Regions from separate parts of the Homo sapiens genome. Here regions 2 and 3 are each linked to region 1. Evidence: promoter capture Hi-C in human tissues and cell types (Jung and others, 2019). All regions are on one chromosome and are shown on one strand. Each heading gives the region's core, a stretch centred on a gene start or on the middle of the fragment in contact. The rest is flanking DNA. Distances are from core to core; before and after follow the strand shown.

What was found. The method cuts DNA at HindIII sites, captures the fragments that hold promoters and counts their contacts. A contact is called where the count stands out against the background at its distance.
Region 2: a contact is called between a fragment that was not itself captured here and the fragment with the promoter of PPP5C in region 1, in 4 of the 25 tissues and cell types used here (H1 embryonic stem cells, aorta, dorsolateral prefrontal cortex and 1 more).
Region 3: a fragment that was not itself captured here is called in contact with the fragment with the promoter of PPP5C in region 1 in 2 of the 25 tissues and cell types used here (IMR-90 fibroblasts and liver).

Annotation. Positions count from the first base shown.
Region 1 is chr19:46,345,495-46,349,205 of GRCh38, reverse strand. It overlaps PPP5C (protein phosphatase 5 catalytic subunit), which reads right to left and starts at 2,119. Exons shown (of 13, transcript NM_006247.4): 1 at 1,989-2,119. The coding sequence starts at 2,109. RefSeq lists enhancers at 1,872-2,001, 2,102-2,281. The HindIII fragment of the contact is 31,019 bases long and covers 1-3,711 here.
Region 2 is chr19:46,541,631-46,545,582 of GRCh38, reverse strand. It overlaps the pseudogene PPP5D1P. Among named protein-coding and RNA genes, the nearest start is that of PNMA8B, 48 kb to the right of the region's middle. The HindIII fragment of the contact is 3,360 bases long and covers 1-3,269 here.
Region 3 is chr19:46,103,161-46,107,029 of GRCh38, reverse strand. It overlaps a transcript of IGFL2 not described here. Among named protein-coding and RNA genes, the nearest start is that of IGFL3, 20 kb to the left of the region's middle. The HindIII fragment of the contact is 4,668 bases long and covers 261-3,869 here.

The DNA of each region.
Region 1 (3,711 bases), core at 870-3,369:
TCTCCTGCCTCAGCCTCCCAAGTAGCTGGGACTACAGGTGTGTGCCACCACACCCAACTAATTTTTTCAGCAGAGACGTCGTTTCACCATGTTGGCCAGGTTGGTCTCGAACTCCTGTGCACGTTCTCGTCTTACCACCCTCCCCCATTTCTCCACTCCCCTTCAGAACCAATACTCCTAACACTTAACATTTGCTGTCTCCACTTCCTCCCCTCCCATTCACTCTTCAGCACCTCCTGGCTGCATCACCCCCATCACTCCCCAATAACTGCTCCTGTCAACATCACTACCAGCATCCATGGAGCCAAAGCCAATGGCCAGTGCTTGCCTTGGCAGCATCGGACTAAAGGCACCAGCTCCTTGTTCTAGAAGCGCTCCCTTCTCTCAGCCTTCCCGACACCTTTCCTGGCTTCCTTTCCACCTCACTAAGTGCTCCTCCTTAGCCTCACCCTCTTCCATTTGGGTTCTGTCCTAAGTCCCCCCTCTAGACCCTCTTACTAGATGATCTCATCCATTCCCAACCATAGTTTGATCACACCCAAATTCTTCTCCAGTCCAGACTGGCCCATTTACTTAATGTGTCTTCTTGTAGGGCTGGGCGTGGTGGCTCATGCCTGTAATCCCAGCACTTTGAGAGGCCGAGATGGGCGGATCACCTGCGGTCAGAGGTTCGACACCAGCCTGGCCAACATGGCGAAACCCCATCTCTACTAAAAGTACAAAAATTATCTGGGCATGGTGGTGTGCGTCTATAATCCCAGCTACTCGGGAGGCTGAGGCAGGAGAATCGCTTGAACCAGGGAGGCGGAGGTTGCAGTGAGCCGAGATTGCGCCATTGCACTCTAGCCTGGGCAAAAAGAGCAAAACTCCCGTCTCAAAAAAAAAAAAAAAAAAAAAATTCCAAACTGGTCTTTGTAATGACTCACGGAGACCCTGCATGATCTGGCCTCTGTCCTAATCTCATCTTGTTATTGGTCTCCCCCTAAGTAGCCAAAGCCCCAGCCATGCCAGTACCCTTTCATTCCCCATCCCAGGGCCTTTGCACAGGCTGCTTTACCTCCCTGGAACACTCCTCTCCAGTTCTCCCTCTGTGAGTTTCAGCTTAAACGCCTCCTGCTCAGTAAGGCCTTCCCCCACTACCCTATCTAAAGTAGCCTCCAACCCTTATTCTCTACTTCATCACACTGCTGGTTTGCTTTCAAAGCACTCATCACAATTTAAGTATTTTACTTATTTACATGGTTTTTTTTTGTTTTTTTTTTTTTCATGTCTGGTTCACCTGCAAAATTACAAGCTAAGGACAGGGCCACATCTGTCTCATTCACTGCTATATCCCCAAAGTCAAGCACAGTCCTTGGCACATAACAGGTACTCAATAAATATTTGTTGAATTAATGAATGAATGGGTGCCCCACACTTGACTCTCAATATTCTAAGTGATACTATTCTTAAGGATCCCCACCCTTACTCCCAAGGCCCCCACCATCACATTCCTTTTCCTCGGGTCAGCCCAAATCTCCTACTTCCTTGTTCCCCCCATCTAATGATCCATTCCCCACCCCCACGATTGCCTTCTCTATTGGGGCTGTGCCCCCTCTACCCCCCACTTGGCGGCACCCACCCCAGGACTCCCCATTTGGTAGCGCCATCAATCACTCCCCCACCACATGTCACTGCCTGGTAGCGCCCTCTACAGGCCTCACGTTTGGTAGCGCCCTCATTCCAGTCCCCCTCTCGCCCCACAATTGGTGGCGCCCTCCTCAGTCTCTCCACTGAGTAGCACCCGCTCCGCACGCCACTCCTAGGTATCACTCTCCGAAGCCCCCTATGTCGCTCCTTGGCAGCGCCATCCTGGGCCTCCCCACGCCCGGTCACTTGGTAGTGTCTGCCCCGCGCCCAGGCTGCAGCTCCGCGTTGCTATGGTTCCGCGCGGGCCCGGCACCCCTCAGCCTGGGCCACTGTCCACCCTCCCTGCCAGGCGGGCGCACCTTTGAAGTAGTCATTGGCCTGAGTCTTGAGCTCCTCTGCCCGCTTCAGAGCTCCATCAGCCGGGGGTTCGTCCCGGGGGGGCTCAGCACACTCAGTCCTCTCGCCCTCCGCCATCGCCATGCCGCAAAGCGACCCCTACCCTGGCAACGGCCGCCAGCGGCACCCGGCCGAACCGTCGCGAAGGAGCGCCGGGTGGCCGCCGCCGCTGCCGCACAAGTGTCGTAAAGCGCGGGCCCTGAAGGCGCCCTTCACGCGCCTGCGCAGGTCCCTTTCGCCACAGAGCGCGCGGAGGACAAGGTGACCAGAGGTTCCCCAGACGGTACCCCTGGTAGAGAGAGCCAATAGGGAATGAGAGAAGGGGCGCGCGGGGAAACAGACCTGGTGTGGCCTCTCCTCCCAAAGTTACCGTGTTCCAAGGCTGTAAAAAGTTTCTCGGTTCTGAAAGTGGGATTTCCCCGCTGTCCTCTAGGGTTGGGGGGTGGGTTGTGAATGTCGCTGGCGGGTGTGGCTGTTTTGCAAGGCAGCGCCATGCCCTACGCGGAGCCGGACCCGGGCGTCGAGCCCTATTGTCGACTACCTGTGTGACCTTGAACAAATCTTCCCTTCCTCTCTAGGGTCTCAGTTACCCATCTCTGAAAAATTAGTGGTTTCTCAAGCCAAAAAGGGTCCAACCTTGAGGGTCAGTGTTTGAGTTTTTAACTGAAGGCACTCTGGATTTCAAGTCCTGAGCAAGGCTTAGAAGTGTGTTGCACCATCTCCTTTCTTCCTGTGTTCAGCTTCCCAAATCCTGAATCTTCAAATAAACTCTCCTGTTTGTGTTTTTACAGATTCTCTTGTCTGAGATCACAGCATTGATTGCATGCACTCTGCCTCCCTCCAGTTTACCCTTCACATTTTTTTTTTTTTTTTTTTTTTTTTGAGAGGGAGTCTCCCTCTGTCGCCCAGGCTGGAGTGCAGTGGCGCCATCTAGGCTCACTGCAACCTCCGCCTCCCGGTTTAAGCGATTCTTCTGCCTCAGCCTCCCAAGTAGCTGGGATTACAGGCGCCCGCCACCATGCCCGGCTAATTTTTGTATTTTAGTAGAAACGGGTTTCACCACGTTGGCCAGGCTGGCCTCGAACTGCCGACCTCAAGCTATCCGCCCGCCTCGGCCTCCCAAAGTGCTGGGATTACAGGCGTGAGCCACCGTGCCCGGCCGAGGGATCTTTCTAAGACATGATAAAACCATGGCACACTCTCGCTCCCAGGCTTCCATGGCCCCAGCACCCTTAGGAGAAAACCCAAACTCCTGATTAGGAGACCCTGAATAGTCTTAACCTCAGGCTGAATAGTCTAATATCCAGATTCCACCCCTTTGCCAATCCCCACCCGCCGTACACGCTTCCAGTCTGTCCTTTCTAAGCCCTCATGTAGCACTAAGTCCTGTAAGGCTCTGGATCCCCTCCTGGAAGCACACTCCTAAACCTATCTATCCCACTCCCAAACCTCTTGTTAGTCCAACCCCATCTCTCCTACTGGCCCCCAGCACAACCAACAATCACCCTAAAGGGCAGATATTAGTATCATCTCCATTTTACAGATAAAGACACAGACTTGCAGAGGTGTTTGACGAAGGTCACAACAACATAAGAAGGTGACAGAGCCAGGATCAGGAATCCCATCTAATTCCTATGTCCTTCATTGCCACTCTACTGCCTCTGTAGGTGCCAGAGCCCATCTTGG
Region 2 (3,952 bases), core at 340-2,839, 200 kb before region 1:
TTTGAAATCCCATTCTACAGATAAGTGCGCTGAGGCTGCAGTAGCAAAGCTGGAGTTTGAACCTAGATCTGTGCGAGTCCAAAGGCTAAATTCTCTCTCTCTCTCTCTTTTTTTTTTTTTTTTTTTTGAGACAGAGTCTTGCTCTGTTGCCCAGGCTGGAGTACAGTAGTGCGATCTCAGTTCACTGCCACCTCTGCCTCCTGGGTTCAAGCGATTCTCCTCCCTCAGCCTCCTGAGTAGCTGGGATTACAGGTGCCTGCCACCATGCCCAGCTGATTTTTGTATTTTTAGCAGAGATGGGGTTTCACCATGTTGGCTAGGTTGGTCTTGAACTCCTGACCTCAAGTGAGCCTGCCTCGGCCTCCCAAAGTGCTGGGATTATAGGCACGAGCCACCACACATGACTCAAAGGCTAAACTCTTGAGAGTGGGCCATGCTGCCCCAAGAAGCTCCACTGGATTTATTTGAAGGTCCTTGCCAAATCAGTTGGGGAAAAAAAGGCAGATTCAGCCCATGGATCCTTAAGTACCACTCGAAGAGTGGCATGCTTTTCCCAAATGTCACCTTTTGTCTTTAAGGCAAAGGTGGTGCCAGATCTTCAGCTCTCATGTCTCCTGCACAAACTCTCCCAGGCGTGAGAAGAGACTCCACTCTGCAGAAACTCTGTCTCTAAGGGGGAAGTGACAGTCAGAGAAGGGAACAGGGATATTACTGAGGCCAGAAGGCCCCTCTCCCCTCAGTGAGGCCCACGCTCGTGCCCAAAGCCTGTCTGTCTTCCTAAATAATGCAGTGTGGAAGAGTAGAGGCTTTGCAGCCAAGCAGACAGGATTTCATAACCCTGGTTCCAGTACTTCCCAGTGTGTGATCTTGGACCATCAACTGGGCCTCTGAACCTCAATCTCCTCCTCTATAAAAGTGGCACAATGGCCGCAGGCGGTGGCTCACGCCTGTAATCCCAGCATTTTGGGAGGCCGAGGTGGGCGGATCACTTGAGGTCAGGAGTTTGAGACCAGCCTGGCCAACGTGGCGAAACACTGTCTCTACTAAAAATACAAAAATTAGCCGGGCGTGGTGGTGGGCACCTGTAATCTCAGCTATTCAGGAGGCTGAGGCAGGAGAATCACTTGAACCCAGGAGGCGGAGGTTGCAGTGAGCCGAGATAGTGCCATTGCACTCCAGCCTGGGCAACAAGAGCAGAACTCTATCTCAAATAAAACCCAGAAAACCAAAAAAAAAAAAAAAAAAAAAAACCCAAAACAAAACAAAAAGAAAAAACAAAAACAACAACAACAAAAAATGGCACAGTAATAGCTTAATTCCCAAGCTTGTTCAGGATTTTGTGGGTCAGGAATGTGAAAAGGGTTTGACTGGATGTTCATTTCTGTTCCACGTGGCATCATGTGATGAGGGCTGGAGGACCCACCTCCAAGATGGCTTCTTCACTCCCATGTCTGGAAGCTTCAATTCTCCTGGGCCTTCTCACAGCTCCATGCTCTTAGGGGAGCTGCAATTCTTTTTTTATTATTTATTTATTTATTTATTTGAGACGGAGTTTCGCTCTGTCGCCTAGGCTGGAGTGCAGTGGCCGCGATCTGGGCTCACTGAAAGCTCCACCTCCTGGGTTCACACCATTCTCTTGCCTCAGTCTCCCGAGTAGCTGGGACTGCAGGCGCCTGCCACCACGCCCGGCTAATTTTTGTATTTTTAGTAGAGACGGGGTTTCACCGTGTTAGCCAGGATGGTCACGATCTCCTGACCTCGTGATCCGCCGCCTTGGCCTCCCAAAGTGCTGGGATTACAGGCGTGAGCCACCGCGCCCGGCTGGGGAGTTGCAATTCTTACACAGTAGCCTGGGAGCCAAAGAGATCACGACGGAATCTGCTGGTTCCCTTAAAATGTAGATCCAGGCCTGGCGGTGTCACTTGTTTGTTTGTTTGTTTGTTTGTTTAGACAGGGTCTCGTTCTGTCACCCAGGCTGGAGTGCAGCGGCGCCATCATAGCTCACCGCAGCCTCTACCTCCTAGGCTCAAGGGATCCTCTTGCCTCAGCCTCCCGAGTAGCTGGGACTACAGGTGCGGGCCACCACGCCAGCCTATTTTTAAAAGTTATATTTTTGGCCGGGAGTGGTGGCTCACGCCTGTAATCCCAACAGTTTGGGAGGCGGAGGTGGGTGGAAGTCGGGAGTTCAAGACCAGCCTGACCAACATGGATATACCCTGTCTCTACTAAAAATACAAAATTAGCCACGTGCGGTGGCGGACCCCTGTCATTCCAGCTACTCGGGAGGCTGAGGCAGGAGAATCGCTTGAACCCAGGAGGCGGAGTCTGTGGTGAGCCGAGATCACGCCATTGCACTCCAGCCTGGGCGACAAGAGCGAAACTCCGTCTCACAACAAAACAAAAAAGTTATTTTTAGTAGAGTTGGGGTCTTTCTGTGTTGCCCAGGTTGGTCTTGCAGTCTTGGGATCAAGCGATCCGCCCACCTCTGCTTCTCGGTGTTGGAATTACAGGCGTGAGCCGCCATGCCCAGCACAGTGTCACATCTGTCATATTCTATGGGTCAAAGCAGTCAAGGGTTCTTTCTCAATCAGACTAAGACCAACAGGAACAAGCTTATTGTATTAATTTGCTAGGGCAGCCTTAACAGACAAGAAGGGAGGTGAGTCGCCTTTTAGTTTAAGTAGATACGGTCATGCTATTCTCTAATTGGCCACCAGATGGCGCGCTGGACTTACTATTAGTACAGTTTGTAATTGCCCTTCCGAGAGTGGCCACCGCCACTCAAGCGACTGGACACTGGACTAAGTGCTTCTGTTAATTTGGATAAGACAAGACTCTCACTTTCTTTGATAAAATATAAATCTAGAAGAGCCCTAGGCTTTTATTGCATCATGATCATGGAAGGAGAGAAATGATCCTTTTCTGATTTGCCAGAGAAAACCAACCAGTATTTATTCTTTAGGAAATACAGAGATGCTATTTAACCTCCTGGTCACCATAGCAACAAATAATCAAGGAAGACAACCAATCAGAATGCAGGTTTCTTTGGGAGGTTCTTTTTTTTTTTTTTCAGATATTGCAACAATTTCTAAAAAAATCTTAGACTCTTTTGTTCAAATTATCCTTTCAAGGAAAGACACAAATGAACAGAGTTAACAAATGAGGCTGGTAACAGGAAAATTAACTGGAGCTCCTGGCTGCACGGGAGAACAGAATGAATGTTTAGGGTATGTTCTCAATGTGCCACTCTATTAAAATTGATTTTTTTTTTTTTTTTTTTTTTTTTTGTAGACAGAGTCTTGCTCTGTCACCCAGGCTGGAGTGCAGTGGCGTGATCTCGGTTCAATGCAAACTTCGCCTCCCAGGTTCAAGCGATTTTCCTGCCTCAGCCTCCCGAGTAGCAGGGATGATAGGTGCCTGCCACCACGCCCGGCTAATTTTTTTGTATTTTTAGTAGGGATGGAGTTTCACCATGTTGGCCAGGCTGGTCTCAAACTCCTGACTTCAAGTGATCCGCCCTCCTCGGCCTCCTAAAGTGAAAAAACTAATTATTTAGAGCAATTTCATGATGCAGAATAGAACCCCTTCCTATACAGCTGCAAGAGAGAACGGGCTTTTTTTTTTTTATGTTTGAAAGCACTGACTTTGCTAAGCGTGGTGGCTCATGCCTGTAATCCCAACACTGGGAATCTGAGATGGGAGGACCACTTAAGCCCAGGAGGCCAAGGCTGCAGTGAGCTATGTTTGCACCACTGCACTCCAGCCTGGGCAATGGAGTGAGACCCTGTCTCAAAAAAATGCAATAATTAAATATAATAAACACTTGAAACAAACTTTATAGGAACCACAGTCTCAAGATGAAGAGTTACATTCCAGAAAGAATCCACACAAGACCACTGGGCTTAACATTCTGTCTTATAGGCAAGCTTTTTGCTTACAATTCACCCAGGAA
Region 3 (3,869 bases), core at 1,345-3,844, 240 kb after region 1:
ATTAGGTCAAGACATTTTAACTAAATTATCTGCTTCCCTGACTATTCCTGGGCTACAGCCACACCTCACTGCCACCCTTTTCCCCAGTTCATAGCCTCCTTCGAATCCTCCCCTTGTATCTCCCTACCTTAATCCACAAGCATGGGATCCCTCTACTCCCTCCTTGGCGACTGATCATGCACCCCTTATCATCCCATTAAAATCTAATCACCCTTACCATGCTCAACGCCAATATCCCATCCCACAGCAGGCTTTAAAAAGGTTAAAGCCTGTTACCACCAGCCTGTTACAACATGGCCTCTTAAAGCCTACAAACTCTCCTTACAACTCTCCTATCCTACCTGTCCAAAAACCAGACAAGTCTTACAGGCTGGTCCAAGATCTTTGCCTTATCAACCAAATTGTCTTGCCTATCCACCCCATAGTGCCAAACCCATATACTCTCCTATCCTCAATACCTCCCTCCACAACCCATTATTCTGTTCTGGATCTGAAACATGCTTTCTTTACTATTCCTTTACACCCTTCATCCCAGCCTCTCTTCACTTTCACTTGGACTGACCCTGACACCCATCAGTCCCAGCAACTTACCTGGGCTGTACTGCCACAAGGCTTCAGGGACAGCCCCCATTACTTCAGTCAAGCCCTTTCTCATGATTTACTTTCTTTCTGTCCATCTGCTTCTCACCTTATTCAAAATTTTGACAACCTTCTCCTTTATAGCCCACCCTACAAGTCTTCCCAACAGGGCACCCTCCTGCTCCTCCAACATCTATTCTCAAAAGGATATTGCATATCCCCCTCCAAAGCCCAAATTTCTTCCTCATCCGTTACCTATCTCAGCACCTTTCTTCATAAAAACACACGTGCTCTCCCTGCTGATTGTGTCCGGCTAATCTCCCAAACCCCAACCCCTTCTACAAACAACAACTCCTTTCCTTCCTAGGCATGGTTAAGGTACTTTCTCCTTTGGATATCTGGTTTTGCCATCCTGACTAAACCATTATATAAACTCACAAAAGGAAACTTAGCTGACCCCATAAATCCTAAATCCTTTCCCCATTCCCCTTTCCATTCCTTAAAAAACAACCCTAAAAGCTGCTCTCCCTAACTCATCCCAACCCTTTTCATTACACACAGCTGAAGTACAGGGCTGTGCAGTCAGAATTCTTACACAAGAGCTGGGACTGCACCCTGTAGCCTTTCTGTCCAAACAACTTGACCTTACTGTTTTAGACTAGCCCTCATCTCTGTGTGCAGCAGCTGCTGCTGCTCTAATACTTTTAGAGGCCTTCAAAATCACAAACTATGCTTAACTCACTCCCTACAGTTCTCATAACTTCCAAAATCTATTTTCTTCCTCACACCTGATGCATATACTTTCTGCCCCTGGCTCCTTCAGCTATATTCACTCTTTGTTGAGTCTGCAACGATTACCATTGTTCCTGGCCCGGACTTCAATCCAGCCTCCCACATTATTCCTGATACCCCACCTGACCCCCATAACTGTATCTCTCTGATCTAACTTGTATTCACTCCATTTCCCCATATTTCCTTCTTTCCTGTTCCTCACCCTGATCACACTTGGTTTATTGATGGCAGTTCCACCAAGCCTAATCACCAATCACTAGCAAAGGCAGGCTATGCTATAGTATCTTCCACATCTATCATTGAGGCTACTGCTCTGCCCCACTCCACTACCTCTCAGCAAGCCAAACTCATTGCCTTAACTCGAGCCCTCACTCTTGCAAAAGGACTACGCATCAATATTTATACAGACTCTAAATATGCCTTCCATATCCTGCACCATCATGCTGTTATATGGGCTGAAAGAGGTTTCCTCATTACACAAGGGTCCTCCATCATTAATGCATCTTTAATAAAAACTCTTCTCAAGGCCGCTTTACTTCCAAAGGAAGCTGGAGTCATTCACTGCAAGGGCCATCAAAAGGCATCAGATCCCATTGCTTAGGGCAACGCTTATGCTGATTAGGTAGCTGAAGAAGCAGCTAGCATTCCAACTTCTGTCCCTCATGGCCAGTTTTTCTCCTTCTCATCAGTCACTCCCACCTACTCTCCCACTGTAACTTCCACCTATCAATCTCCTCTCACACAAGGCAAATGGTTCTTGGACCAAGGAACATATCTCCTTCCAGCCTCACAGGCCCATTCTATTCTGTCATCTTTTCAGAACCTCTTCCATGTAGGTTACAAGCCACTAGCCTGCCTCTTAGAACCTCTCATTTCCTTTCCATCGTGGAAATCTATCCTCAAGGAAATCACTTCTTAGTGTTCCATCTGCTATTCTACTACTACTCAGGGATTGTTCAGGCCCGCTCCCTTCCCTACACATCAAGCTCAGGGATTTGCCCCTGTCCAGGACTGGCAAATTGATTTACTTACATGCCCTGAGTCAGGCAACTAAAATACCTCTTGGTCTGGGTAGACACTTTCACTGGATGGATAGAGGCCTTTCCCACAGGATCTGAGAAGGCTACCGCAGTCATTTCTTCCCTTTTTCCAGACATAATTCCTTGGTTTGGCCTTCCTACCTCTATACAGTCTCATCACAGACCAGCTTTTATTAGTCAAATCACCCAAGCAGTTTCTCAGGCTCTATTCAGTGGAAGCTTCATACCCCTTACCGTCCTCAATCTTCAGGAAAGGTAGAACGGACTAATGGTCTTTTAAAGACACACCTCACCAAGCTCAGCCTCCAACTTAAAAAGGACTGGACAGTACTTTTACCTCTTGCCCTTCTCAGAATTAGAGCCTGTCCTCGAGATGCTACAGGGTACAGTCCATTTGAACTTTTATATGGATGCACTTTCTTGCTCGGACCCAACCTTGCCCCAGACACCAGCCCTCTAGGCGACTATCTTCCAGTCTTCCAGCAGGCTAGACAGGAAATTTGCCAGGCTGCTCATCTTCTCTTGCCTACTCCAGATTCCCAGCCATATGAAGACACCCTAGCTGGATGATAAGTTCTTGTTAAAAATCTGACCCTTCAAACTCTACAACCTCGATGGACTGGACCCTACTTAGTCATCTCTAGTACCCCAACTGCTGTCCGCCTGCAGGACCCTCCCCATTGGGTTCACCATTCCAGAATAAAGCTTTGTCTGTCAGACAGACAGCCTGATCTCTCCTCTTCCTCCTGGAAGTCGCAAGTACTCAACCCTACTTCCCTTAAACTCACCCGCATTCCTAAATGATAATAGTAACCCTTATAAGCCTAATACATCCTATCATTTTTATTAGGTCTCTTCGTCCTTACCCTACTCTTCCCAACAAAGCTTTACGCATTCACCCCTCCCACTTGGATTGCACCCCAAAAACTTGTCATCCCTACTATCTTCTGTCTAGTCATATTCCTATTCACCATTCTCAACTACTCATAAGTGTCGTGCCCCTGTTTACACTGCCAGTTTACATTTTTCCTCCAAACCATCACAGCGGATATCTCCTAGTACTATCCCCAATCCGCCACTCTTGACTCCCTCTTGGAGTGGATAGATGATCTTTGCTCACAGGGCACACTCCAATACTTTCACCCTGATGAAGTCCTATTCTTTACTTTTACACTCACTCTTATTCTCATTCCCGTTCTTGTGCCACCCTCTACCTCTCCCCAGCTACCTCCACCACACTATCAATCTCACTCACTCTCTCCTAGCCGTTTCTAAACCTTCTTTAACAAACGATTGTTGGCTTTGCATTTCTTTTTCCTCCAAAATCGCCGAGGCTTTGACTTACTGCTAAAAAAAAAGGGGACTCTGTATATTTTTTAAAAGAAGAGTGTTGCTTTTACCTAAATCAATCTGGCCTGGTATATGACAACATCAAAAACTCAAGGATTGAGCCCAAAA